7 separate regions of the Homo sapiens genome follow, and regions 1, 2, 3, 5, 6 and 7 are each linked to region 4. The links are contacts of gene promoters, found by promoter capture Hi-C in blood cells and fetal thymus (Javierre and others, 2016). All regions are on one chromosome and are shown on one strand. Each heading gives the region's core, a stretch centred on a gene start or on the middle of the fragment in contact. The rest is flanking DNA. Distances are from core to core; before and after follow the strand shown. Region 1 has its middle 310 kb from the start of LINC02655. Region 2 has its middle 370 kb from the start of LINC02655. Region 3 has its middle 290 kb from the start of LINC02655. Region 4 holds the start of SH2D4B (SH2 domain containing 4B). Region 5 holds the start of PLAC9 (placenta associated 9). Region 6 holds the start of TMEM254 (transmembrane protein 254). Region 7 has its middle 270 kb from the start of LINC02655.

What was found. The method cuts DNA at HindIII sites, captures the fragments that hold promoters and counts their contacts. A CHiCAGO score of 5 or more calls a contact.
Region 1: a contact is called between a fragment that was not itself captured here and the fragment with the promoter of SH2D4B in region 4, in 2 of 17 cell types (M0 macrophages and M2 macrophages). The highest score is 6.4, in M0 macrophages.
Region 2: a fragment that was not itself captured here is called in contact with the fragment with the promoter of SH2D4B in region 4 in 3 of 17 cell types (M2 macrophages, M0 macrophages and M1 macrophages); the score reaches 13.2 in M2 macrophages.
Region 3: a fragment that was not itself captured here is called in contact with the fragment with the promoter of SH2D4B in region 4 in 4 of 17 cell types (M2 macrophages, M0 macrophages, M1 macrophages and 1 more); the score reaches 11.6 in M2 macrophages.
Region 5: the fragment with the promoter of PLAC9 here is called in contact with the fragment with the promoter of SH2D4B in region 4 in 5 of 17 cell types (naive CD8 T cells, fetal thymus, neutrophils and 2 more); the score reaches 10.4 in naive CD8 T cells.
Region 6: a contact is called between the fragment with the promoter of TMEM254 here and the fragment with the promoter of SH2D4B in region 4, in 3 of 17 cell types (naive CD8 T cells, activated CD4 T cells and non-activated CD4 T cells). The highest score is 7.6, in naive CD8 T cells.
Region 7: a fragment that was not itself captured here is called in contact with the fragment with the promoter of SH2D4B in region 4 in 3 of 17 cell types (M2 macrophages, M0 macrophages and M1 macrophages); the score reaches 10.9 in M2 macrophages.

The regions. Positions count from the first base shown.
Region 1 is chr10:80,959,266-80,962,466 of GRCh38, reverse strand. No RefSeq gene overlaps it. Among named protein-coding and RNA genes, the nearest start is that of LINC02655, 310 kb to the right of the region's middle. The HindIII fragment of the contact is 747 bases long and covers 1,370-2,116 here.
Region 2 is chr10:81,016,680-81,019,700 of GRCh38, reverse strand. No RefSeq gene overlaps it. Among named protein-coding and RNA genes, the nearest start is that of LINC02655, 370 kb to the right of the region's middle. The HindIII fragment of the contact is 1,274 bases long and covers 804-2,077 here.
Region 3 is chr10:80,940,226-80,943,404 of GRCh38, reverse strand. It overlaps the pseudogene WARS2P1. Among named protein-coding and RNA genes, the nearest start is that of LINC02655, 290 kb to the right of the region's middle. The HindIII fragment of the contact is 1,555 bases long and covers 567-2,121 here.
Region 4 is chr10:80,536,242-80,539,267 of GRCh38, reverse strand. It overlaps SH2D4B (SH2 domain containing 4B), which reads right to left and starts at 1,366. Exons shown (of 8, transcript NM_001388272.1): 1 at 753-1,366. The coding sequence starts at 936. RefSeq lists an enhancer at 2,969-3,026. The HindIII fragment of the contact is 17,935 bases long and covers 1-3,026 here.
Region 5 is chr10:80,131,278-80,134,248 of GRCh38, reverse strand. It overlaps PLAC9 (placenta associated 9), which reads right to left and starts at 1,519. Exons shown (of 4, transcript NM_001012973.3): 1 at 1,423-1,519. The coding sequence starts at 1,486. The HindIII fragment of the contact is 6,415 bases long and covers 1-2,971 here.
Region 6 is chr10:80,077,288-80,080,410 of GRCh38, reverse strand. TMEM254 (transmembrane protein 254) reads right to left here and starts at 1,746. Exons shown (of 4, transcript NM_025125.4): 1 at 1,625-1,746. The coding sequence starts at 1,711. It overlaps TMEM254-AS1 (TMEM254 antisense RNA 1), which reads left to right and starts at 1,218. Exons shown (of 4, transcript NR_027432.1): 1 at 1,218-1,684. The HindIII fragment of the contact is 2,319 bases long and covers 256-2,574 here.
Region 7 is chr10:80,918,730-80,921,938 of GRCh38, reverse strand. No RefSeq gene overlaps it. Among named protein-coding and RNA genes, the nearest start is that of LINC02655, 270 kb to the right of the region's middle. The HindIII fragment of the contact is 6,328 bases long and covers 1-3,209 here.

The DNA.
Region 1 (3,201 bases), core at 494-2,993, 420 kb before region 4:
GCAGTGCAACTGCAACTTACTGCTTACCGCAACCTCCACCTCCCAGGTTCAAACAATTCTCCCACCTTAGCCTCCCAAGCAGCTGGGATTACAGGTAGGCACCACCACACCTGGCTAATTTTTGTATTTTTAGTAAAGACGGGGTTTTGTCATGTTGGCCAAGCTGGTCTCAAACTCCTGGCCTTATGTGATCCTCCTGCCTCAGCTTCCCAAAGTGCTGGGATTACAGGCATGAGCCACCACACCCAGCCACATGTCAATAATTCAATCCTCACATCAACTTTATGAAGTAGTCACTATTATTACCTCAGTTTTACCCAAATAAGGAAAATGACGCACATAGAAGTTAAAGAAATTACCCAAATTACACAGATGATAAATACATATGTATTTCCACATGTTAATAAATGCATAGGATAATTTCTAAGACATGTGAGTCAAATAGAAACACATCTTAAATTTTGAATGATATGGTCAAATTGTCCTTTAAATGAGGCTGTATTAATTATATACTCTCTTCAACAGAATATGAAATTTCTAGAATTCTTCCATTCACCAGTGTTGGGCATTATAAAACTTGGTAATATGCGACAGTTTAATAAGTGAACAAATCAAATTATTGTTTTGTTTACAGTACTTTCATTATGAATAATTCTAGCAATTTTTAATATAATTTTTAGCTATTTGTAGTCCTTCTGTGAACTGTCTATACTATAAATGTTCTTTGCTATTGAGTTGTGAACTTGTAGGATTGCCTAATATGCCAAAGAAAATAACCCTTTGACTATTATATATTTTGCAAATATGTTTTCCCAGTTTTGCTTTTTACTTCCCTTCCAAAATTTTTGCAACTACCCTGTTGAGGTACTAAATTTAATTTTTATGTACAGTCCACTGCCTCCAAAAAAGAAAATACTGCTTCACTTTTCTTTATTTATTCCCTTGCATCTGTCTTTATGCCTGCCAAACTTCCTCTCTCTCTGTGTCTTGTTCTCTGCCCCTCCCTGACTCCTTCCTTTCTTCGTTTTCTTTCTTTCTACTTTGATCTCAGTAGAAACAGTTGAGTTAATCATACTGCTTAGATTAAAGAATACTATTATCACATTTGCATGTTATATGCCCCAATTGTTGCATTTTATTGTACCCCTCCAACCCAGTCCCCACTACCTTTCCTGCCCTACTTTTTCCATCCCATAAAAAGAAGATGCTGGATGCATGACCTTGGTAAAGGCTCATCTGGAGGGAAATTTGATGATTTCTGTTTATCAATCTAATTGTAATCTCTCTTTATATATACATACATACAATTATGCATTTTGTCATTTTATCTTTTTTTATCGTTTAAACCATTTCTACTATCAAATAAGCTTCTTCTCCAGATTTCTTAGAAAACAATGAAATCTAAAAATTAAAAATTACTTTTCACATTAGGGATAAAGAAAAATATTTAAAGTATGAGGATAGTAATTTATACTGGATTGCAAAATAAAAATACAGTGTATTGAGATTAATTATTTAACATTTTATAATTCACCTTTTGTTATTTTAAATAAAACATTTTAATTTACATAAATGACATTGTGCTATAGGCCTTTTTCTATTTATTAATAGCTTCACACAACATTGTATTTTAAAATCTGTCCATATGGCTTTATATCCATGCATCCCATTTTTATTATTCATTATAATGAATGTGGGCACCTCTGTTGCTCATCTCAAACTGTGTCATGATAAGCATTCTCACCCTTGTCTGCCTATGACCTGAGTGAGTGGGAGCCTGGCTCATATGGAATACCCATTCTTCATTTCTCTAAGTACTGCCAGATTGCTCTCTCAAAAGACAGTATGAATTTACACTTTCAATAGCTGTAACATGTTTTTTCTCTATATCTTGGTCAACACCAGAAATTATTCAACATTCCAATCTTTGCCAATATTGGGTATAAAATTAGATTTCTTTTGAATTACATTTATCTGCTTATAACTAAGAGTGAGAATCTTCTCAGTTTCTGTTAACTGTTCAAGTTCCTCATCTTTTCAAAGTCTAATAGTTGTAGTAGTTGGCAGTTAATGATGAAGTGACTAGCAACTCAAGTTAAATATCTCAGGGTAAGCTTCTGAATCCAAGTTATGGTGTCTCAACTATATTTAAATTAGCAGCTCATTGTCTGTCTTCCTAGCTAGGACTGATATTCATTCAGATGCACTAATCTAACTGTATGGGTTTTTCACCTTGCTGTTCACTCTGATTGATCAGATACTACTTTTAATTATGCAATATCTATATCAAATGAGCTGTTGATTATTTTTAATATTATCCTTGTTTCTAGCACCTAAAATGAAACAAAACTCTTCTCATACCTTCCTTCTATCTCCCATAAAAACACTTTAATAGCAATGTAACAAAATTATCTTAAACATTTGCATCTATGCCTATAAATTTGAAAATCAGCAAGGCAGAGAAATGGAATTTGTGAGGAAATGGATTTGAAAGCTACAAAATAATTGCTCCTAAAATCAATAAGTGGGTGGCACTGTAAAATGGTTCAAACATTTGGAAAGAATTATAAAAATTCAAGTGATGGTTTCTTTGATCCAGCAATTGACTCCTAATTTGCTACCTGAAACAACTGCAAAGAAGAAAATTGGCTTCACCCAAAGATATTCACTGCAGTCACTCTATCTGGAGAGAAGAAAGTTATATTTAAAAAGAAGGTTAATTTGATACTAGTTAAAACTAGATGCACCTGAGTAAAGCCCAAACATGGAATTTGTCATTTTATTTTTAATTTTAATTTTATGTTACTATTTTTGTTATTTTAATTGTAAGTAAAGATTGAAAAAAGATAATCATTGAAAAGACATAATGTTTACTCTTAAGACATAATAAATGTAAAACTATCTTAATGCTATTAAGCAAGTCTTAAGGGATAAATAGGGGATAAATAGATGGAGCATGTTTGAACAAGGCAGAGGTGAACGATGAGAGAAATGATAGAGCTCAGAAACTCTAACATGAAAATTCAGATTTTTAAGGAGAGCAATTTTGGTTTTATATATTATATGGATCTTCAAGAACTGATCTAAAATGAAATGTGTGTTGAGCATTCTATTAAGAATCAGCACAGTGTCAAGAAATGCTATCTGCATCCATAATTGTAAGACTCAAATTAAAATATCGACCCAACTTTGCCTCCTCAA
Region 2 (3,021 bases), core at 191-2,690, 480 kb before region 4:
GCTGTTTCTGGAAACTGCACTGTGATGCCCGGATGTGTGGGGAGTTGGGACAGGGTCCCCCACACTAGCCCTTCCTTGGGGCCTGACTGGGGTTGCTATTCTTACAACTTTGGGGTGTACTTTGAAAAGCAAGCCATCTGCCATCCCCGCCAAATATCAATTTTAAAATATAATAATAAAAGATATAATAATAAATTACCCAAGTATATTTTATGTTTTCTTTTTTTTTTTTTTTTTTATGTTTCTTCAAAGGAAACCTTACAGCAGGCTTTCTCAACTTCAGCTGTATTGACACTGTGGGCAGGATAATTCTTCGGCCTAGGGGCTGTCCTGTGCCTTGCAAGATGTTTAGCAGCAACTCTTGCCTCTGCCCACTAGATGTCAGTAGCACCTCCACAGTTCTGATAAACAAAAAGATCTCCAGACATTGCCAAATATCCTCCGTGGAGAAAAATTGTCCCCAAGGGAACCACTGCCCTATAGGAAGCATCTCTAGTAACCTTTGTGCAGGTCATGCCTTTCCATTGTCTGTTCGCAGGTTTCAAAATCAAGCTCAAATTAATCTCCTCTAGCTAGTCTTTTCCTGATCGCTCCAGCAACTCAGTTGCTCCCTTATTGGTTCTCCCACAGCTTCCTACACATTTCTCCACTAACACAGTAAGATATATTGCTGTGTTTTTCCTACTTGATTGCCTGCTCCACAAGTCTATAAACACGGGTCATCTTCTCACTAACAGTGCTTGTCACATAAGAGCTAGCAAATTAAGTCATTCATCTAAGATTGTATCTCCTCACAGGAAGCTTGAGATTGAGTAATTTAGACAAACAAGTGAAATGACAATAACTAGAACTCTCTATGTGATTCACTCAATAGTGAGTATATTCGTCCATTCTTGTGTTGCTATATAAAGAAATACCTGAGACTGGGTAATTTATAAAGAAAATAGTCTTAATTGGCTCATGGTTCTGCAGGCTTTACAGGAAGCATAGTGCTGGCATCTACTCAGCTTCTGGTGAAGCCTCAGGGAGGTTTCAATCATAGCGAAAGGCAAAGAGGGAATAGGCACGTCACATGTTGAAAGCAGGAGCAAGTGAGAGAGAGTCGGAGGAGAAGTGCCAGACACTTTTGAAATGACCAGACCTCACAAGAACTCATTATCATGAACACAGCACCAAGCCATAAAAGACCCGCCCCCATGACCCAAGCACCTTCCACCAGATCCCACCTCCAGCATTGGGGATTACAATTCAACACAAGATTTGGCAGGGACATGCATTCAAACTCCATCAGTGGGCATTTTATTCTGTGCCTGGAACTTGACTAAGTATTTATATGTAGTATCTGATTTTATTTAAATCTTCGTAATGCTCCTGGGAGGTATAGTGTAATCCTCATTTTCTGAGTGAGAAGCCAAAGCATGGAGAAGATTAGCAGCTTGCAAAGGACAGCATCATTTATACATATGGAGGATTTGAACCTTGATCTATCTAGCTTCCAAGTCAACACTTTTTAAACATATTGAAATATAACACCAATGCAGAAAAGTGCATAAAGCATAAATATAAAATTCCATGGACAGAGGTGGACCAAGATCACTGTTAGAGTGATCTGCACTGACTTCAGGCAATAAGGGGGCACGTTCTCTGCAGAAAACTTAAAAACAATTTAAAAAATAACTAAAATTGGTCTGCTTTTAATCATCACTCTGGGCCAGAATTTCTGAGCAATGTCAGTGATAGAATATTCTTCATTGAATAAAATATCCTGTGTTGATTTAAATTCTAAACAATAGTGTGCTTACTACTGAGTCTTAAGTATATATGTGTGTGAGTGTGTGTAAAATTAGCACTATTATTATGTATTCTTTAATAAACTCTGAGTTCAACATGGACACTAATCCAGAGAACTTCCAGTTACATGGTTAGGTCCCAACACAAGGGTACAAGCTACAAACATTCTTTCAAGAGTTAAATTTATAATTGTTATGGGCCGAATTCTGTGCCACCCCTACCCAAATTCATGTTGAAGCCCTAACCCCCAGCACCTCAGAATGAGACTGTATTTGAAGACAAAGCTTTTAAAAAGGAAAGTAATTGAAAATAAGGTCGCTAAGATGCCCTTAATCCAATCTGACTGGTGTCTTGATACAAGGAGATCAGGACACATGGGGAGACATCAGAGATGTGCACACACAGAGGAAATGCTATGTGAGGACTCGGCCAGAAGGCAGCCATCTGCAGGACAAGGAGAGGAGCCTCAGGAGAACCCAGCCCTGCTGACACCTTGATCCTGGACTTACTTTCAGCCCTCAGAACTGTGAGAAATTAAATTTCTATTGTTTAACCCACCCACTCTGTGGTATCTTGCTATGGCAGCCTTAGCAAACAAATACAATAATGGTTTCCAATTGCATGCTTTGGGAACAGTGAGTCTCCAACACATGATATGATATTAGAAATCAGCAATAATCACACCATGACTATAAAAATGAAGAAATAGAATTCTATTTAATTGAATTATTAAATATGACTACTTGGAGATTTTATGTATGTTAAAATGTAAAACAGTGAAACAGGGAGCCAACTGTAAAGTATAATATTATTTGAATTTTATTCTTCTGCTTTAGTTGTTTTAAAACTAAAGATGAATCCCTAAAATATGGATTATTCATTGATTATTGTGATTATTAATAAAAATAATTTCATCACCTAGAAAGAGGATTGGGAAACTCCCTTATTATCTATTCTGGTAGTCAGATTATCTATTCTAGTTGTCAAATATGCTAGGTATGCAACCGTTCAATGAGATATCACGAAACAAACACCTATATAACTGCCATCAAGTTTTAAGAAATCGAATATTGACAGTTCCTTGGGTGTCTTCTTGGTGCCCTCTCCACTGTACTACCTCTCTCTCCTTCTTAAATGTAACAAATGTCTTTATTTCTATTCTAACAGTTCATCTCTTTCTCATTTTGGAGCTGATATTAATGAAAAAGTTTAGTAAATTTTTTTATGCCT
Region 3 (3,179 bases), core at 95-2,594, 400 kb before region 4:
GATTAAGTATCCTAAGTTTTAAATATAATACGTTATTTTTGTGAAGTTATAAAAAATAATGTAAATTCACAGAAGAAAAATTGGAAAAAAAAGAGACAAAAAATAAATCCAAAATCTCCACAAGCCTTCTACTATGCAATTGAAATTAACTTTGTGTTCAGGTTTTCAATTTTCTTCTATATGATTACAATTTTTTCACTGTTTTATAACTTTATTCTTTAATAAGATAGGATCGAAGACAGTAAGTAATTCTAATGTGTTGATATTTTGAACATTATTAATGTGTTCTCTCTCTTACCTTATCCATCTTTCTGCAGGCAGTTGAACATATGTTTCAGAAGAAATGGAAAGAACAAAGCAATAATCAGCTTCTGATAAGAAAACTAGGATTTTGCCACAAGAAAATTAGCTTGAGAGGCAAGCATTTTGAGACAGGATTTTCAAAATTTCTTTATCTCCTCTATTTAAAATTGCAGCGGCCGTGCCTGACAGATACATACTTACAGAGTTCTCCCACAGTTTGGCAGAGATAGACCTTCTACACAGGACAATAAATTCATAAAGCTTTTCTCTTGATGATAGGAGGCTATGACAGAGGAGACGTAATAGGAAAAGAGAAAGACAGAAAAAAAGGCATTGAGACAAGCAGATAAATGGCCCTGCTTCATCTCAGGTTTGGCCATGACCTGTTGACCAGGGAGATGTGGCTCTTCCTGAGCCATTCCTAGTTTCCGTGTGATAGACATGGGATTCAAAGATGTTGTGAGTCCTGCTGTGGAGCATGTTGAAGGGCACCAGGAAGGGAGCAAGGGGAGTCTCTAGCAGCTGCCACAAAGCACTTCCTCTGAACTGAACCACAGCAGAGACCCAGCCAAACGTCAGTCTTCTTCTGCCAGGGAGACACAAGGTGGGCACAGCAGAGTCAGCCAAAGAGAACAGAGGCCCAACATAGCTGAGAATGATGGGCATATGACTTATATTAGTCAAAATTTTCTGTCTTGAATGCCAGCGGGGCCAACAGTTCAGGCAGAAGGAATATTGTCCTGAAGACCAGCAGACTAAGCATAAATTAAAAGTCACCATGAAGATTAGAGGATCATTTTTCCCGTCCAATGCCATGTGTTCTCCTAAATCACCTCCTGGATGCAATTTCAAACATATCCTCCCATCTGAGAGAAGGAAGCATGAGGAGGGGAAGAAATTAAGACAAACAGTATTTTTTATGAAAAAGTGACTCAATATTACCCAAAGTTACCATTTAAGTTATCAGCCTGGACTAGGCTTAAAGCAAGACTAAACACAGGTCATTCTTCCCACTAACCTGTGGGTAGGGACTTGAGAGAGAAGGTTGTATAAATTATAGATAAAAATTAAGAAAAGTACATTTTTTCTACACATCAGAGTCATACTTTGAATTTCATTTTGCAATTCAACACATGATTACTTCCAAGACAATTTTAAGAGATACATGGCATTTCCTTTCATGGTATTTCATATCATGTGTTAGTTATCTATTGTTGCCATAACAAATTACCACAAACTTAGCAGCTTAAATAAGGCCTATTTATTATCTTGCAGTTTCTGAGGGTCTTACAAGGCTGAAATCGAAGTATTGGCAGGGGCTGCAGTTCTCACCTGGGGCTTGGGACCCTCTTCCAAGCTCACTAGCTATGGGCAGAATTCTGTTCCTTGCAATTGTAGGATTGATGCTCCTGTTTTTGGACAGAGTATCTCTTTCATCTTCAAGCCAACAATAATGGCAAATCTTTCTTGTGCTTCCTATATCTCTGGCTTCCCCTTCTACTGCCCCTCTCTGCCTTCCTCCTCTGCTTTTAGGGCCTCGAGTGTTTACACTGGGCCACCTAAATATCCAGGATAATTTTCCTATTTAAATATAAACTAACTAGTAACCCATCTGCAAATTCCCTTTTGCCACTTAACACAACATAACCACAGGAGTAACACCAAGGTAGCAGAGATTACAGGGACCAAAATTCTGTCTACTACACATGATGTATCTCAAATAATTTGTTTTGCTAATTGCCTACCATTATCCATTCAGGCTCTTTATTTCTTTGCTTGTGATACACAATTAAACAATCAACAACCTTGCATAAAGCTTCAGCACAGGACCTTGGACCAGGAATTTTGCAGAGGAATAGTGGCTGATCTTGTCCTCAAGCAGCATGACATACATTAAATATTTGCAGGCATTCAGCTCACGGGGACCTTCCATACTTGCAAATAACTGACAGTCATTAGAGTTAGGTGAAGCTGTAGAAAGACTAAGTAAGGCACTGTACTGTCAAGCACCACTGATGCACAACTCATCCACATCTTACAGGCTCCAGTTCTCCTTGGAGAGCACATCCTGAATACCATGGTGGTATAAATAAAGAGAAAGTCATCTTTTTCAACAGTCTCTGCTGTCTGACTGCACATGATTAAGTTGGAGTCTTACATACTTGGCCAGGATGCCATAGTTACAATACTTACACCAGGGAAAGGCAGAGCAAGCAAGCCAGAATCATGATGGCCCCATGGGCCCACTAAGCCCCAGGCTTCAGGCTGCAGATGTTATGTTATATAAGACCACAAACATGGCTTTGATAGGGGGAGGGTGAGTCCAGCCCAAGGAACCAGTACAGGATCTCACACAAGGTTTCAAAAAGAAGTTTGAAGAAATCCCTTCCAGTCCCCAGTTTAACTTCATGAAGTAGGTAAGATCCCTCATAATCCCTCTGCCAAACTCTTTAAGCCCATCCTAAATAAACAAAGCAAACTGCAAATAAAAAGTTGTGTATGACCACAGATGCTAAGAAAATAGTTATATGTAAAAAGGAGCTCTATAAACAACCTGATATTAATGAATTTTAAAATCTCAGTTAACTCGATAACTGTATAAACAATTTTTAATTATAAAATGTACTCAGAATTAAGTAGAAATATTTATTTGCCAACTTTAGCATATAGAGATGACAGGTCAAATCACTGGAAAATTTGTCAAATTCTGTAAGTTGCCTGGGATAATAATGTAATTATTTAGAAATAATTATATACTACCTTTAGCTTACATAATGCACTAGTATTTAGTCCAGGTGTATTAAAAAAAGCTATCCAATATAAGAGTATAGAAAATAAACCCAACATTTAAATAATCTCATGGTACATTAATCTTT
Region 4 (3,026 bases), core at 117-2,616:
CTGTGCCAAGCCAAGCCTCAGCAGCCTGCCAGTTTCTGGCCCAGGGGTCCTGGATGATTTCCTTCACCCACAGGTGTACCAGTCCATAGGATTGACTGGCACATGACTTTGCATACAAAACACCTGAAATGTAGGCTAGGCCCTTGCTTCTCATCTGCAGTTGCTACGACCATTTGGGGATGGTCATTCATTGTGTGGGACGTTCCCTGATGCCCTCTCTCCGGATGCCCAGTGGGGCTCCAGAGACAACCCACAGCATCCTCCTGCCGGAGGATCTGGAGGGAGAGGCACAGTCCACAGAAGGGGCCCTAGCCAAGAACTGGTGTGCCACGCATGCCAAGGAGAAAGGAACTGCATATCTACACCACACTCTGGCCCAGAACCAATGGCAAGGGTCACAAATATGCCGTCGTTCACCCTACCATTGCCAACCACGTCGGAGCACAATCTGAAGTCTCAATGGTGTCTTCCCAGAACTCGGGCCTTCCACAACAAGACAAAGCAAGTCCCAACTCCCCGACTCCAATAAGGGCCGCTGGACAGCCTCTGCAGCAGCCTCGAAGCCCTAAGGTCCTGGCCAAAAGGCAAAAGCACAGGCTCATGGGACCTGATGCCCACAAGACAAGGGTTTCAAGCCCCCAGCCCTCATCACCCCAGTGCCCATCTTGAAGAAGGGCACAGCCTGGCCCTGCTAATTTTTCTACCTCCTGGGGGACTGGTGGCCTACCTCTCTGTGACTCCCAGCCACGTACCTCGCTTGGTCTTTGGAGGCCTGAGACCCTCGTCCTGGGCCAGGGCCTCCCAAGTCTCCCGCTCCTTCCAGCGCCTCAGCTGCTCCTCCCGCATTTTGTAGAAGAGGATGTGCTTCTGCACATCGCTGAGCTCGGCAAGGAGCTCGGGGTCGATGTACATGTCGTGCAGGATCTGCTGCAGCATGATGCCACCTGGGATGCACGCACCAGAAGGGCAGCCAGCAGGGGAAGCAGGGCCAGGCAGAACGCCCGAGGGGCTGCTCTGCACTACGGACTGCTCAATCCGGGGCCACTCTCGGTGCCCCTTCTCTGTGCAGCATTGTCAGTTGGCCTCAGCTTGCAGCCAGCGACGAACTCATCTCCTCTACCCAGGACAGCAAAAGAGGCCAGGCAACAGGACCCAAAGGGGCAGGTGGGACTCTGCAAGGGGGAGCAACCACCAGGAGCAATCTAGTCCTTCTCCTGGGTCACCAAGCACGGCATCCCAGGAGAGCCCATGTCTTGGCATCACCTGGGGTTCTGAGACAATGGGAAGGGCCCAAGCCTCCAGCTCAGCCAGGAAATGCCCAGTCCCAGCCCTGCCTGGGCTGGTAGGTGTCGAGTGATCTGTTAGTGGAAGGTAACAATGACACCAGCTATATCAATGACACTGCCCCGGCCAGCTGGGAACTGATCTCTCCTCTGCAGATAAGAGGAGGAGAAGGAGGCAGACTTGCCTACTAAATTCCATGTCTTTTCAGCCAATTTCAAACACAGACCAGAGGAGCCTGCCAGAAGCTGCTGGGCCCCTCAGCCCTCTCAGCCCCTCTCTCTGCGGGTTCCTTCGCTGCCAACTTTCTTCCTTTCCAGAACATTTGGCATTCTGAGATGATGCGTTTAAAACTCTGCCTTGGGGGAGGAAAGATTTTTCCTCCTATCTGTGTTACAGCCAAGAAAGAAAACAAAATGGAATCAGTAGAGACAACTGGAGGGGATTTTATCTTGGAATTCCAGGACAGAAAGGAAGCAGACATCCTTTCCCTTTGGCCTATATATAATGAGATCCTGCAGCCATGCGTGGCTGACAGATAAACCCTCCAGGGGCCAGTTTTAATGGTCGTTGTTAATCTTGTTTGTTGCAGATGCCTGGAGTTGACCAAAAAGAAAGAAGATGAAACTGGCTCTTCTCTGTGCCCTGATCAGAAGCACACTGGAATGGCGGGATGTTGCCTTCTGCTGGGAGGGAAGCCACCCTCTCTTTGGTGTGTGAAGGTGGGTAGAAGCTGCCGTTGCTGAGATCTTTAGGGTGAAAGCTCACCCTAAATATGTGCTCAGAGCAAATCACAGATGCCTTCTTATTGGGACAAGGATATTGAAGCTCAGAGAAAGTAAGTGGCTTGCCTATGGCTTCCTAATGGACAAGTCACTGTATTGGGACTCCCCCGTTTTGAAATTTGACATCCACTAGCAACTATGAATCTGTTGATGGTTTGAAAACATAACCCAACCAAGGGAAAACAAACGAACCAACAGGATTTGGCACTGTGGCTTGGTTGGATTGGTGACCTTCCTGTCCCCTTCCTTGCCCATGAGGGTGGAAGGTGGATCAGGTACCCAAGAGTGATGGAAGAGGGGTGGAGAGTTGGCATTCTTCCCCCTCTGCAAGGTTAACACAACAGGAAGATGGACTAAGCAGATTCAGATGAGCTGTAAGCCCATAGGGTCAAAGCTCCTGCTCAGCTAGGCAATGTCCAGGTCACAGGAGTGGAGTCAGACGCCCCACCCCTCCCCACCCAGGTCCAGCTAGCTGGTCCCAGTGTGCCCAGACCTTCCTAGAGCCGCCACAGGACTCGCCTGTCCGCTGCAGAGCTGTGGCCCTGGACTCCCATCCACCCACCTCAGGGCTTGCACCGACTCCCCCACCGGGAGTCCTGGCTCCCCTCAGTTTCTGAGACCGGGGGTCTTCCCTAGCCTCTGCCCAGCTATTCTCTTTCTCCCCCTCGCCGTGGCTGGTGGGAGACCCCCGAGTCCAAAGAGGAGACAAGGGGAGGAAGGCCCCCAGGGTCTGGGCTCCTGCGGGCAGCTTCTTTTTGTCTTTCCCGGGCCGCCAGATACCTACGACCACAAGAGGGCACGGGGCAGGGACAACGCTGTAGGGAGCAGCAGGAATGGGCCGGCTGGAGGCGGGCGAGAACGGTGATGGTGCCACCCTGGAGGACCGTCGGGAGAGTGAGGCAGCCGGACTAGAATGACCCCCGCTAGCGCCCATTTTGTGCGATAGAGGGGATCTCGCTG
Region 5 (2,971 bases), core at 270-2,769, 410 kb after region 4:
AAAATATACAATGCCTGGATTTCCTTTAAAATAATCCAGGGAGGGGAGAGAGGGTGGAGGCTATAGATGAGATAAAACTGCCCATGAACTGATACTTCTTGAAGCAGCGTTGATAAGTATATTACATGATTCTTTCACATACTATTACTTTGTATTTTTTTGTATCCAAAAGTTTTCATAATCAAAAGTTAAGATATATCATCTAAAATCTGAAAGATTATGCACAAAAATATATGAAATCAGTGTGAAATTACACTAATACATGAATACTTTCCTCCTTTCCTTCTTCTTTTTTTTTTTTTTTTGAAACTGAGTCTTGCTCTGTCACCCAGGCTGGATTGCGGTGGCTTGATCTCGGCTCACTGCAACCTCCGCCTCCCAGGTTCAAGTGATTCTCCTGCCTCAGCCTGCCGAGTAGCTGGGACTACAGGCATGTGCCACCACGCCCGATTAATTTTTTGTATTTTTAATAGAGACAGCATTTCACCATGTTAGCGAGGCTGGTCTTGATCTCCTGAGCTTGTGATCCGCCCGCCTGAGGGGTAGGTGAGGGGAAGAAAGCGGACAGTGAAAAGCAAGGAACCCAGCTAATGGAGTACCCAGACAGCCTCTCTCCTCCGCACAGCTCTCCACCTCCACCCAGTCCCCCATCTCCACCCAACATAGCTCAGTTTCCCAGAGAAGCTCCCTGGAAACCGGGAGGCTGACTTCTTCACTGACTGCAGATCCACCTGAGGCCACCTGGCAGGTGAATCGGTGGCCTTTCTCCTGGGCCCGACTGCCTGGTTCCTTAAGGCTGTGCTGGGCTAGCCTGGGTCACTCATCCTTTGGAGTGTGGCTTCTTATGCAATGTCCTATAAAGCCAGGCCTGAGCCTCCACAGGCCCTCTGAGATGGAGCTGGCCTCCGGGGCTGCCCCACCCAGCAGCTGTGACCTCCCACTCCAGATCCTGGCTCCTTCTCTCTTGCCAGCTCTACTCCGGGCATCGAGCTTCCCTCTCTCTCCTTTTTGGTCTCTCTCAAATCTTTCTCTTTTCTTCAATATCCTCTCTCCCTCCACCCCTTGCCATTTTAATCACTTTTTCTCTTTCCTTCTTCTCTTTTGTCTCTCAAACTCCTTTTTCTTTCTATCTTAGTTCATATCTGTTCAGGGGAAGCCTCTTTCTGTCTCAGCCTCTCCTTTTTCCTTTTCACTGTGTATTCTTCCCTATCTCCTTTATCTCTCCGTTGCTCTACTTCTCTGCCTTTTTCTGAGTCTGTTTCCTCTCAATCTTTCTCTCCATCCCTCCCTCCCTGCATCTGCCTCTCTGTCCATCTCGCTGCTGTGTCCAGCTCTCTCTCCGTCTCTCTCGCTCATTCCTTCCTCGCCATCTGCGGGTCTCCCCGGCTCCAGGTCCCCTGCCGCGCCCTGCGCCCCACTCACCGGCCAAAGAGCCCGCGGCGCGGAGCAGGGCCAGTCCGGTCAGCGCGCAGAGCAGGGGCCGCATGGTGCCGGCCTGGCCGAGCGCAGCGCCGCGTCTGCCCGCAGCCGCCCTTCCCGGATCGCACCCGGCCGGCCCGAGAGGAAATGCACTCAGTTCGAGCCAAAATTCCTGGGCGGCTCCGGACTTTCTGGCTCGAGAGAACCCGCCCCCTCCAGAGGCCCCTCGGCACCCCGTGGGCAGCGCGGAGCCCAGAGACCCCGGGAGCTGAGGCACCGACGTGCCACCTGGGCGCCTCCCGAGGAAGGGGCCGCCCCCCGAGTCCCCGCACCTCCTGGGAGCCCGGGAGGGAAGGCGGGGCGGGGGGCATTGGGTGAGGTCTTGGGCTCAAGGCGACCGAGCCTGGGGTCAGGGGTTTGTTACGAGCCAGTTTCACAGGCGGGCAGACTAAGACTCGGAGGGAAGTGTCTTCCTCGGCATCACTCTCAGCCATAGCACAGGATCTGAACCCCTGTCTCCTGGGAGTTTGGCAGCTTTTCTCTGTCTACCTACGAACAAGAAATTAATTCTAATTACATGGAACAGTGTCTGCCCCTAAGAGGGAGACCCAGAAACTCACTGCTCTGGTAAGGGAGTGATAGAAATATGAAAAGGTAATTTTAAAAAGAAAAGGTAAAATCGTAACTCTCGCAAAGATATGAAATTAGCATATACTAAAGATTTTATTCAATTCATTATTAATGAGGGGATAAGTAAGATGGTACAAGCAGCCCAAAGTTTAGAGCACAGTAGTGGAAACTTCCCCTATGGGACATGCCCATCCAACAAGTGCAACAACAAATTAAGTTTTAGTAAAAACACAAAGCAAAAAAGCTGTAGCTCTAACTTCTCTGCTGCAGAGCCCTGAGTGAGTGTCTCGTCTGGCTGTAAGTGGAACACATTCATCACCAAGCCTGGGAGAATGCCTTTGTCCATCAAGGGTCCCCGTTGGGATTACCTGGAGCTCTTGCAGATCAAGGCTGCCTCTCTGCCTTCTGTGTTCCTGGCTGTGGCTATGCAATTGTCCAAAACAGTTACCACGCTAACCAGTGATCCAGTTCTCACTCCCTCCTCCAGAGCAAGATAGTAGCCTCAGACGGAGAAATTCTGGTTCTGAGCCCGAGAATCTGAGACAGACTCAGATCTAAATCTTTTAAAAGCCTTCAAGGAGATTATGATGCCCACATGAGCTGGCTCAGAAGAAGAATTTATTTCAGGAATGCCAAAAATTTCTCACGCTTGGTGGTAGGACATTCCTTGATAGTTTCGCCAGGTGGGAAAAAAAGTTGTCAAAGAACTGCCCAACTCATAAGGATTCTTGTAGCTTAGAGCCAGTGGGCTACCTTATATTTTGAATTTAAGACTAAGAAAACACACACACACACAAAAACATATACAATACATTATTGTTGCGGTAGAGCATAAAGTAATTAAGTATACAGAGTAAAACATGAAAGTCTTTTCTGTTACGAATTCCCTCCGTCCAATGATTCAGGTCCAGTCCCCTCAACT
Region 6 (3,123 bases), core at 497-2,996, 460 kb after region 4:
AAATTTTTCGTAATCTTAACTTTCAGCCTCTGTATTGTAACTTCTGTCAGCTAAGACTTTTCTGAGAATAACTCAACAGTTTCAAAATGTATTGTCCCATTCAAATCTTTGTCAAGAGCAGTACTACCTCTCTCACGATGTTGTTTCACATCTGAAAGTTAAATAATGCACAAATATCACTGCATCCTCCCAAACCAAAGGGAAAGGGGAGCATCTGCCAGCTCCACAAGATCCCAATTTGAAGTCCCCAAAGCTTTCCTCCAACTATATTCTAACTAGTCACAGACACTAAATCGTAGAACAGAAATGCACCTTTGAAAATTTTCAGTTCAACACCTCCATTGTACATATGGGGAAATCAGGACATAGGTTGTCAGATTTGACACCAACAAACAACACTGTGGACAAGACAAATCTCCAATCTCCAGGATCTATTGGTATACCCAAATAGCTTCGCCTTCCTTCAAAATTTTACCACCTTATCACTTGACGTTAGGAGTTCGAGGCCAGCCTCACCAATACCCATGTCTACTAAAAACACAAAAAAATAGCTGGGCATAGTGTAATCCCAGCTACAGGTAAAGACATGAGAATCGCTTGAACCTGGGAAGCAGAGGTTGCAGTGAGCCGAGATCGCCCCACTGCACTCCAGCCTGGGTGACAGAGCGAGACTCCGTCTCAAAAAAACACAAAACTACCACCTTAGCCCCCAACCTACTTTTCCACGCATCTTTCTCGTTATCCTTTAAACAGATTATTTCTCAGCCAAACAAACGTCGCTCTTTTTCTAGGTACAGCTTTCTTCTTGCTTCCACACCTATGTCAGAACAGTTATAGCCTCTTTATCCTCCCTTACCACTTAAATCCTACCCATCCTTTAGATTTATCCCCGTTTTCCAAACAATTCCTATTGGCTCAAACATTCTGCTTCGGAAGCCCTATTCTGACTTGGCAGGCCTATGGCAGTCTGTTAACTTGACTTTCCGCTTCGTGAGAGGCTTAGGCTCGGATAACCCGTTAGTAACCATGCAGAGGTGAGGACCCAAAGACAGGAACACTAGAAAGCAGAAACTATCCTAAGAGCCCACCGAATTTCCGCTTACATGAGTAACCGAGACAACCGTCAGATGCGCGTGCGCACAGGCCCCGTTCCCAGAGCTCCCCTCGCCCTACGAGGGCCCGGCGGGCCAAAACAGAGGCCCGCCCCGCCCCACCCCACGCCTCACCGCGAAGTAGCCCAGCCCCAGGACTGTGACCAGAGAGGGCAAGGGTCTTGCTGGACGGAAATAGGCGGTAGCCGCATTGCTGGCCTCCGACTTCACCATCCTCTTGAAAAACCCAGACACAGAGTTGGCTGGGAGCTCCCCAGCCGTCCCCGCCCCCATATAAGAAAAGCCTGGCTAGCCGGTTTCTCAGGGCCCTGGGCGCCCGCCCAAGACCCTGGCGGACCAGTATGCTTGCTCTCATTGCGGAGTCTGGTCCCCTCCCCTCCGCTCCTAGCGCGCGGGAGTCGGGATTGTGCTTGCACGACTTCCCCCGGCCCGCGGCCTGTGAGCCCAGGTCCTGGGGTGAACCGAGCGCTCGCTCGTTCGTCAGACCGTAGCGCTCCAGCGGCTGTCCTTACTGTGTAGTAGCCAAAGCTGAGGGTGATGACTGTGAACCAGAACAGACTGCCTCGCTGAAAGTAGGTCGCGCCGGCTGCCGTAGCCATGGCTGCAACACCTCCCCGGGAGCGCGCTTCAGGACACCGTCGAGCGCGAGCGCGGAGGCAGGGCCGGGGCCGGCCCGCGCTCCCTCGCCATCCCCGCAGGGAGAAGATGGTGCTGGTTGGGAAGTCCCTGAGAGCGAGTCTCCCTGTCTGGCCCCAGTACAGGGGCCTTGGAATCACACCTGGGCTCAGGTCTGGAGGGCTGGTCATCATCTTGTAGGGGAGACACTCCTGTCACTTTTCTGGGTTTAAGATAAAGATGTTCGGGCTGGCGCGGTGGCGTGTCCCTGTAATCTCAGCACGTTGGGAGGCTGAGGTAGAAAGATCCCTTGAGCCCAGGAGTTTGAGACCAGCCCGGGTAACATAGCTAGACTCTGTCTCGAATGAATGAATGAATGAATGAGGTGTTGGAATAAATTCCAGCAATTTGGGAGGCCGAGTCGGGCAGATCACTTGAGGTCAGGAGTTTGAGACCAGCGTGGTCAACATGGTGAAACCCCGTCTGTACTAAAAATACAAAAAATTTGCTGGGCGCGGTGGTGCCTGCCTGTAGTCCCAGCAACTCCAGAGGCTGAGACAAGACTCTCTTGAACCTGAGAGGTGCAGGTTGCAGTGGGCCCAGATCACGCCACTGCACTCCAGCCTGGGCAACACAGCAAGACCCTGTCTCAAAAAAAAAAAAAAAAGATGGTGTTTTACTAAGAGTCTAATTTTTGAAGTTCTCTGTGCTGTGCACCTTGAGAAATAATGCTGTCCTCATTAGTTAAGATGTTTGGAACTATACAGCACCATGGTTATGAGCAGGGACTGTGAAACAGGCTGCCTGGATTTAAGTCCTGGCTCTGTCTCGGCTATTTGTGTAAGCTTAGATTAATTACTTAGCCCGGCTGTGTCTTAGTTTCTGTATCTGTAACATGAGGATATGCCAGTTTTGGGAACCTCAGGGTTTTTAGGGTGGGTTAAATGAGTTGATATCTGTAAAGAAAGCACAGCAGTGTCTGGCCCATAGTGCTTTGTAAGTGTGGGTGATTATCAATACTGCTGAGCCTTTAGCATGTGTGCCAGGCCCTGTGCGAACTGTTGTATCATCAATGAGCTGTGGGAGGTATATGCAGCTGAAGTGTCTGATTAAACACTATTTAATCATAGAAATAGAAAATCATAGAAATAGAAAAACTATTTCACCTGGGCCTTAAAAATGGGTTACTGGCCAAGCGCAGTGGCTCAAGCCTATAATCCTGGCACTTTTGGAGGCCGAGGTGGGTGGATCGCTCAGGAGTTCGAGACCACCCTGGAGAACATGGTGAAACCCTGTCTCTACTAAAATACAAAAAATTAGCTGGGGGTGGTGGCGCGTGTCTATAGTCCCAACTACTTGGGAGGCTGAGGCACGAGAATTGCTTGAGCACCGGAGG
Region 7 (3,209 bases), core at 445-2,944, 380 kb before region 4:
GCCATCTGTATATCTTCTTTGGTAAGATGTCTGTTCAGATCTTTAGCTAATTTTTAATTGGGTTGTTTACTTACTTACTGTTGAATTTTACCAATAACCTTTTACTTTTGTGATAATTATCAACAATATTACTAATAATGAGACCAAACATTTATAACTACTTACCAAGTACCAGATGTTGTGACAACTGTTTTATAGACATTATTTCATGTAATCCTCATTATAATGCTATTATTTTATCTACTTTTGTTCATGAGTAAGTGGCTCAGAGAGGTTCAAGAACTTATCTAGGATCACACAGTAAATAAGCACTAGAGCTAGAATTGCAAACCAATTCTCAAATTTCTAGGACCATAACCATAACCACTGCAAGACACTCTTTACCTTCCTTTCACTGATGATGACAGGCTTATTTCTTCTGGTTAAGCTAGGAACATCAAAAGGGTGGAAGGGGTAGTGTGCTGGAAGTGGGGATGGATGAATGCATCAATCAGTACCTATATCTATAGCTATCTAAATCTGATTGGAAACTGGAGATAAGAAAGGCATCTACATCTAAAGAGAAAACAAAAAGCCTGGAGAACAGATTCTACTTAAAGTTGACTACTTTGAATGCTATTTTTTTTTTTTAGAGAAATTAAATTTTCGCCTACAGTCAAATTGACAACAGTTTAAAGTGTGAGGTTTTTTTTTTTTCTCTCTCTCTCAAGTCACTAATGGGGCAATTAGCAATTTCTAATTTGGTCTGTTACTCACTTTCATGTGAATCAATTATTAACCCAAGTAAGTCGATCATCATAATTCATTTAGCATATGAGGGCTTCTTCCTTTAGAGACATGTATACATCTCTGGACACCAAGGCAATTTATAGAAATTATACATGTTATACAAATGTCATGTAAAAGATGAAAATAAGGCTGTTTATTAAACTTAGCACAGTTCCTGTGCTTATACTAATGCATAGTGATTAGAATTCTATTCATTGGGGATGAAAACATTTGACCATTTCAGGCTGCCACTACAGTCCTCCTGGCTTCTCTCACTTCTACACCTTCTCCTCCTCTGGCTGCTCCTTGTGGTTTTACATAATTATTAAAATTCCACTCCTAGTGAAGCTGTTACATTGTCTGGGGTATATACCTAGGATTCATCATCTCGCGGCAGAAAAATTGAGGACACGGAGACACACCAGGAGTTTAGGAATGGAGGTTTAATAGGCAGAAGAAAAGGGAGAGAAAAACAGCTCTCTCTATTGAGAGAAAGGAGCCTTCCCAGCAGAAAAGACTGACTAGTGGCGGATGCACATTTTATAGTCCAGCTTGAGGAAGCGGTGTCTGATTTAGGTAGGGCTCACAGATTGGTTCCATCAGGTGTAACGTTTACATAGCGCTCAGAGAAGGCTGGTCGCCCCACCCTAACCTTACGATGCAAATAAACTCTCCTTGGCCAGTGCCATCTTGTCTGCTCTTTACTGCACACGTGGCTGGTAGACAAGGGAAGATGGAGCTGCCATCTTTAACACATCTAGTCCCTAGTTCCTGCCGGCATTCACCCATGCAAGCTCCCAGCTTGCTTGTCTATGTTTGCAGCTCTACTTTACAGACTGCTCTTTGTTAGGAAATGATTTGGGGCTGCTTTTCATTAAAAAGAAAAGCCTTACAGAGGACTCCCATACCTTTACTGTCTGCCTAAGTGATTTCTTCTTAACTCCTATATCACTAGAATAGGAACGAAATTATTTTCACCTTCCTCAGGAAGACTCTCTAGTGGAATCAGGCCTGAAAGAGACGTTTCCAGCCTTTACTTCTCATCCTGCAATCTCAGCACCCCCAACAGGCCAGTGCTTGAAAATGAGGGGTTCCTGCTGCTGAACACCCCAGCTCACATTTTGGCCCCACTCAGATTCTTCCCTGAGCCTCAAGCCTTCGGGCCACATTCCTCCTTTCCCTCACTGCTTTCCTTGATTCTAAGTCTTAAACTACCCTCCCCCTTTAATCTTCCCTCTCCACCAAATCACCCTCCTTCCTTGTTTTGAAATATAAATCCATTGAATGTATTACTCAAAACATTCACTGCTTTTCTCTCTGAGAAAAAGAGACAGAGAAGAATATGAACAGGAAGTGATGAAAACCAGTGCAGGGAAATGCCCAATATTCTAGCAAAGTATGCCAATTTTGGAGTTCTCATCTCTCAGCTACAGTTTTTGACAACATGATGCTACGTACAGATAACCTGAAGGTCTTTTGTTTTCTTTCACTTGGGAACATGACTCTCTTAAATTCCCTTTATCCAGACATAAGCACCTTCCTAACCCTCACCACAACAAACAAAAGCTACTATTCATTAAACACAGACTAGGAGTAAGACATTGGGATGGTGTTTTTGTTGTTATCTTATTTCAGCCTCTTTGTATTATCTTCATTTTTATAGATAAGAAAACTGAGGTTCAAACACATTAGTCATTTGCACCCAAACACAAAATGCTTGTACAGTACTGAACAAGGACATGAAGCCATGTCTTTCTGATTCCTGAATCCACCCTCACTTTACTTCATTGTCTGCTCTCTCCAGAAATAATGTTAGGATATTAGATAAAAATAAATGGCATTTAGGCATCCTCTCATCCTAAACAGGTCATGTCATCTGTGGCCAGGCTGCTAACGCAGTCACTCCGCACCATGCTCTAACACCCCTTCTCTCTTAAGTAGACAAGAAGGAGGGAGCACATTCTTGTTGAGCTGTATTTCAGCAAGGGAATCAAGTCATTTCCTCATCTATATTGTGAAATATAAAACTCTCTAAGGCCCTATCCTCTAGTTCATAAGTCTCTCTACAAGAGAAACCTTGCCTAATACATCACTCTATATATAGCACACTCCATGTAGAGCACAGAAGAATTCTGGATGTCTAGCAGGTGCTTGACATTTTTATTTTATTTTTTATTAAAATGCTGAACTTCGCTATTCACATCTATAATTCAAGGATGCTGTTTCATCATTTTCCAAATCAATAATAATAAAAACAATAACTGGAGAAAATATCCCAAACTTAAATGGCATCTAATTTAATATAGATATTATGAAACACTTCAAATAAAATTTCTCATTAATTCCTCTTCCAGCCTGTCAGTTAGCAAATAAAGGAAATATAGAGGGAATTTTGGTCTTATTAAATTGTCCAAAATTATAAAGTTCTGGAATATACATTC